Regions from separate parts of the Homo sapiens genome. Here region 2 is linked to region 1. Evidence: promoter capture Hi-C in 16 types of primary human blood cells and fetal thymus (Javierre and others, 2016). All regions are on one chromosome and are shown on one strand. The core of a region is centred on a gene start or on the middle of the fragment in contact, and the rest is flanking DNA. Distances in the headings are between cores, read along the strand shown.

Region 1 (2,817 bases), core at 164-2,663:
AAGAGCCGGAGCCCATGACTCTCCGACTGTGAGCAGTGTGGCCTTTCCAAGCCTCCAGAACTTTCTCATTACAACTTTTCCGGGGTCGCACTACTCCCTGGGCCGCGCGGGCTCGGGCACGAGGACCTGGCCAGGGCGCAGCGCCGGCACGAAGGCGCGCGCCGCAGAACTGTTTCCTCAGCCGCGTGCCGGGGAACTAACTGTTTCCTCAGCCGCGTCCAGCCTCGCAGCACTGCTCTTCTGCTTGCTACTCCAGCGAAGGGACATGCCTGCTGGCCAGGACGCTTAGTGGGCCTCGTAACCTGGCGAGTGTGTGCCCGCGCGTGTCCACCCTGCCCCCGGCCGGTGCGCCCCGCGCGCCCAAACCCGGCCGGCGACCACTGCGCGCCGGGCGCTTCCAAACTGCTCCTGTCCAGAGGCATCCCTCTTTCGGCTTTCTCCATCCCGCGTCCGCTTCCGCACCCGAGAGCGACAAGCAAAAAAGATTCAGTGCAACTCAAGGACTGGTAAGAACCAACTAGCCTGTCTCCCCTCTCCAAAAAAGCGCCCTCCCGCGTCCCTCCAGAACTCCCGAAAGACATCAACACCTTCCCGCAACTTTCTACGCCCAGGCCATTTGCAGCCCCACCTGCGAGAGCGAATTCGGGGAACTGCGCCTGGGCAACCTCTTTCCCTTTCTGCTGGGTGCCCTCCCCTCCCCCATCTCCCCGTCTGGCTGGAGTTGGCCGGACTCGGGGAGCCTCGGTGCCCGCAGACTCGCTTACCTCGCATGGTGTGGCCGCTCTCCCGCTCCGCGTAGTCATGAAGCTGCTCCCAGCCCGAACCCCGGAGAGCCCAAAAATCCCGCTCAGCACGAGTGAAGAAGGTGGTCGGCGAAGAGCTGCTCTGCCGAGAAAACCATCCCTTTAGGCGGACGCCGTGGCTGCAGGGTGACGTTTGCCGCCGCCGCCGCTATGTTAACAGTTTTGATGTTGGTGGTGACTGTTTTGATGATTGTTTGTTTGTTTGTTTGTTTTCAGGAAGGGTGAAAAAAAAATGTTCTGGCTGTCTGGTGCCTGGGTTTTGTTTTGGTTTTGTTTTTCTTTTTCTTTCTCTCCAATGTGCTTGCTTTTTAAAAAATGCCACCGCCTCCGGCTCAGAAGATTTCTTTTGTGATCACTTGGACTGAGGAGGAGGAGGAAGGGCAGCAGCAGGAGGAGGAGTTGGTGGTGGTTTTGTTAGTTACAAAGAAGAGGGAGAAGGAACAAGGGGGAAAAAAGGAAACAGAAAGAAAAGAAAGAAAGGCGGTGTGGATGGCAGAGCATGTGCGTTTTCACATGACATCTGTGCCTGTTAGCGGATCCACAATGTGAATTTTCACTGTTCAGTTACAGGGAGGAAGGGAGCAGCGAGAGAGAAAGAGAGGGGAGAGATGGAGAGAGAGCGCTGAGAGGGGCTTATACGCGAGGGCGGGCTTGGCCGCGACTTCCAGGCCCCGCCTGCTGTCAGCGCAGCCGCCAATCAGAGCCCAGCAGCGCCTGGAGAGGCTGGGACCGCGGGGAGGGGACGTGGTGGAGGCGGGGGGTGGGGCGGGGGCTGGGGACCAGGGAGTCCGAGGTGGCCGGGGCTGCGACGGGGAATTCGAGACTGTCCGAACTGGGCAGAGAAGAAGGGCCGACCGGGAGAGTCGGGCAGATCCGCAGGTGACAGGCACTTCCGACTCCAGCAGAGAAGGGGACACTGATCACGGAAAACCTTCGGAGGCAAGAGACGCGGGGCTCCCCGGGTTTCACGTTCGGTCCCTGTCTCGCAACCCCCGCGGGCCCGGCAGAGTTAGTTTTGAATTTATGGCAGCGCTTTGCCGAGCGCTATTTGGGTAAACTTCGGTCTCCGGCGGGGGTTTCCGTGGGCAGGTGGTTTGGGTGTTGGTGGTAGAATAATGCAAACCCACTTTCATCACTTTTAGCACAACTAAAATGCAGTCCCATGGAAGTAGCTGTCCCCTTCCTTTAAAAACGTCCGTCAGATGCTCCCTGACCCTCTTCTAAAAAAAAAAAAAAAAGAAAGAAAGAAAGAAAAAAACGTGTATATGTTCTTTTGTCTGGGAAATTGATTTTTATTAGCATTTGGAGACTCCCCTGGCGATGGACTACAGGACTGAAGGAGAACAGCTCAAATTGGCGGTGTAGCCACCTTACTAATTCAAGAGAAATGGCTGTTGCTAGAAGGTGTGATTGCAGGGTGCTCTTTAGAAAGGTTTTAGAAGGAAGACATTGTTAACTTTAGTTAGAGGCGATTGGTAACTGAACATAGATAAACTTACTTGTATTCCTTAGGTGAAAATTGTCATCTATGACCATTTATTTGTATTTTGATAAAAATCTAATACATATATCCAAACTGTTCCTTTGCAAGTTTTTCCAACTCAGTTGACAAAATAAGCATATAGATGATTACATCTACTTCCTTCCCAATAGTAGGGAACTTCTTAAATACTTGAGTTAATTGAACACCCTAAAAGATTGGGAGGTGAAAATATTTGCCTCATTCACTCAGTCTTGAGGCTGGGAGATGTCTACTCATTAGCATACCTGTTGGCACAGCAGGCCTCATCATCATTTAAGTATCCAAATAATTTGATTTTTGACTGGTATTTATTCATGATATGTCATGTAACACAAAGTACAATGTAGAATTGGCAGTTATTTAGTTAATTAGGTCGCTCTACACTGCCAAGTAGTTTTTTCCTTCCTGATTAAATGAAAAATGAATTATCTGCTGAATTTTCACCAGTATTAAATTGACGTAGCCCTGCTATATGCCATCCCATTTGCAAAC
Region 2 (2,817 bases), core at 218-2,717, 1.3 Mb after region 1:
TGCTCTGTATGTAATATCTTTTATTGTGTTGTGCCTGTATTATGATTATGATATATATTTTATTAGCTTGTTATATATTCATTTTTTGGCTTAGTAATCATTCATCTCTGTGCATTTTAATGTATTCTTTACCTATTCCACAAGTTGTTTTTGTTGTTGCTGTTGTTGTTTTTTGTTTTTTTTTTTTTTTTGAGATGGATGGAGTCTCACTCCATTGCCCAGGCTAGAGCACAGTGGCATGATCTCAGCTCATTGCAACCTCTGTCTCCAGGGTTCAAGCAATTCTGTGTCTCAGCCTCCCAAGGAGCAGGGATTACAGGCACCCACCACCACAACTGGCTAATTTTTGCATTTTTAGTAGAGACGGGGTTTTGCCATGTTGGCCAGGCTTGTCTCAAACTCCTGACCTCAGGTGATCTGCCCTGCTTGGCCTCCCAAAGTGCTGGAATTACAGGCGTGGAGCTACCGCGCCTGGCCCAAAGTTTTCTAAATGACTTACAATAACACATAAAGTGTATAAAATTTAAAAGGTGGCAAATAAAGCCAGACACAACTCAATCATAGATCAAAGTAATGAATGAGACTAAAAACAAGCCGGGTGCAGTGGCTCACGCCTGGAATCCCAGCACTTTGGGAGGCCAAAGTGGGTGGATCATGAGGTCAGGAGTTTGAGACCAGCCTGGCCAACACGGTGAAACTCCGTCTCTACTAAAAATACAAAAACTAGCTGGGCATGGTAGTGCATGCCTGTAATCCAAGCTACTCAGGAGACTGAGGCAGGAGAATCACTTGAACCCAGGAGGCGTAGATTGCAGTGAGCCGAGATCATGCCACTGCACTCCAGCCTGGGTGACAGAGCAAGACTCTGTCTCAAAAACAACAACAACAAAAACACATATCACAATGACCTACACATTTGTCATTGCTGGCTAGATAGTTGTCTATAAGCTATTTAATAGACAATGTACAAACAGCAAGGTTTTTAACCCAGAGCTACTTTCTTGTTCAATATGAGCAAAGATACCGAGGAAAGAATTGGAAACCTCTTCTAAAATCAAGGGGCCAAAGAGCATATGAGGATAATTTTGGTCACATTTTTCATAAAAATTATATACTGTTACCAGAAATATAAAGCACATCAACATATGATATGTATTCATCATATACAGAAATTCAGGGTGTGCATAGTCATGTGAGATTTCTCCTGCTTCTGAAATTCAAATAACTTTAAACTGCAGAAGGAAAGTCTGCTCTTATAGACTTATGCAATGCGTAGACATTACTCATGGAGAAGGTTCTCTACAAGGACAAACACATAAAAAAGAGGCATATGGATTAGATTAGAACTTTCTTGGTTCATAGCACACTTAATGTTTAATAATATTTCTATGATACCTACACCAAATTAATAGCTTACAGTTTCATTTATTAAGTGGTTAAATGAAACACTGAAAAAGTATTTATTTTCTAACAATTTAGTAACCATTTAAAAATATAATAGTACACACAAATATGAATAAAACATATTTTCTTTCTTTCACATGATGTCCTTTCCGTGGGAGATTGTAAGTCAATCTTACTTCCAGCTTCCATGCTGGCATTCCTTTGAGAACTATCCTTGGCTTCAAGGGCCCATGTTTCTCACCTGCAAGCAGGTGAGAAATGCCAGGGAATTCACATCCCCCGGGAGTACTTCCAATTAATAAGAGTTATGTACACCATGGCCAGAATGTTGTGTTCCCCTAGGATTCATATGTTGAAATCCTAACCCCCAAGGTGATAATATTAGGAGGAGGGGCCTTTGGGAAGTGATTACCTAATGAGGACTTTGTCATTATGGAAATTAATGGGATTAATGCCATATTAAAAAAAAATCCCAAGATTTTTTTAACCTTGCCCCTTCTGCCATGTTATGTTACAGTGAAAAGAGGTCCGTCGATGAACCAGAAAGGAGACCTTCACTTACTCACCAAATATACTGGCACCTTGATCTTGGACTTTTCAGCCTCCAAAACTATGAGAAATAATTTTCTGTGGTTGATAGGCCACTCACTTCATGGCATTTTCTTATAGCAGCTTGAACAGACTAAAACAATATATTAGGTTAGTGCAAATGTTATTGCAGCTTTGGACTGTGAATTTTAAATTATTATAACTAGGCTCAAACACATCTTTATTAATCATATAGGAACCATTACAATCAACACATTTTTGCCAAGGAGAAATAACTTTGTTTATTCCTGTAGTGTAAAAATCCGTGCTTCGGGATTTGATGAGCTCTGGAAAGCATTTTCTGCATCCTGCTGGTTGTGGAAGTATTTTCCCTTCAAAAAGATGTTGAGATGCTTAAAGAAGTGGTAGTCGGTTGGCAAGAGGTCAGGTGAATATGGCAGATAAGGCAAAACCTGATAGCCCAATTCGTTCTACTTTTGAAGTGTTGGTTGTGCGATGTGTGGCCTGGTGTTGTCATGGAGAAGACTCGGGCCCTTTCTGTTGACCAACGCCGGCTGCAGGCGTTGCAGGTTTTGTGCAGCTCATCGATTTGCTGAGCATACTTCTCAGATTTAATGGTTTTGCCGGGATTCAGAAAGTTGTAGTGGATCAGACTAGCAGCAGACCACCAAACAATGACCATGACCTTTTTTTTTTTTTTTTTTTAATTGGTGCAAGTTTGGCTTTGGGAAGTGTTTTGGAGCTTCTTCTCAGTCCAACCACTGAGCAGGTTGTTGCCAATTGTCACATACAATCCACTTTTCCTTGCATGTGGCAATTTGATCTAGAAATGGTTCATTGTTGTGTAGAACAAAGGAAGACGAC

Evidence for each region. Contacts are between HindIII fragments. The CHiCAGO score rates a contact against its expected background, and 5 or more counts as called.
Region 2: a fragment that was not itself captured here is called in contact with the fragment with the promoter of RORB in region 1 in 1 of 17 cell types (M1 macrophages); the score reaches 6.7 in M1 macrophages.

What each region holds. Positions count from the first base shown.
Region 1 is chr9:74,495,931-74,498,747 of GRCh38, reverse strand. RORB (RAR related orphan receptor B) reads right to left here and starts at 1,413. Exons shown (of 10, transcript NM_006914.4): 1 at 765-1,413. The coding sequence starts at 771. It overlaps RORB-AS1 (RORB antisense RNA 1), which reads left to right and starts at 195. Exons shown (of 5, transcript NR_125791.1): 1 at 195-506. RefSeq lists silencers at 1,181-1,475, 1,380-1,569, 1,565-1,777. The HindIII fragment of the contact is 5,400 bases long and covers 1-2,817 here.
Region 2 is chr9:73,209,918-73,212,734 of GRCh38, reverse strand. No RefSeq gene overlaps it. Among named protein-coding and RNA genes, the nearest start is that of ANXA1, 59 kb to the right of the region's middle. The HindIII fragment of the contact is 8,255 bases long and covers 1-2,817 here.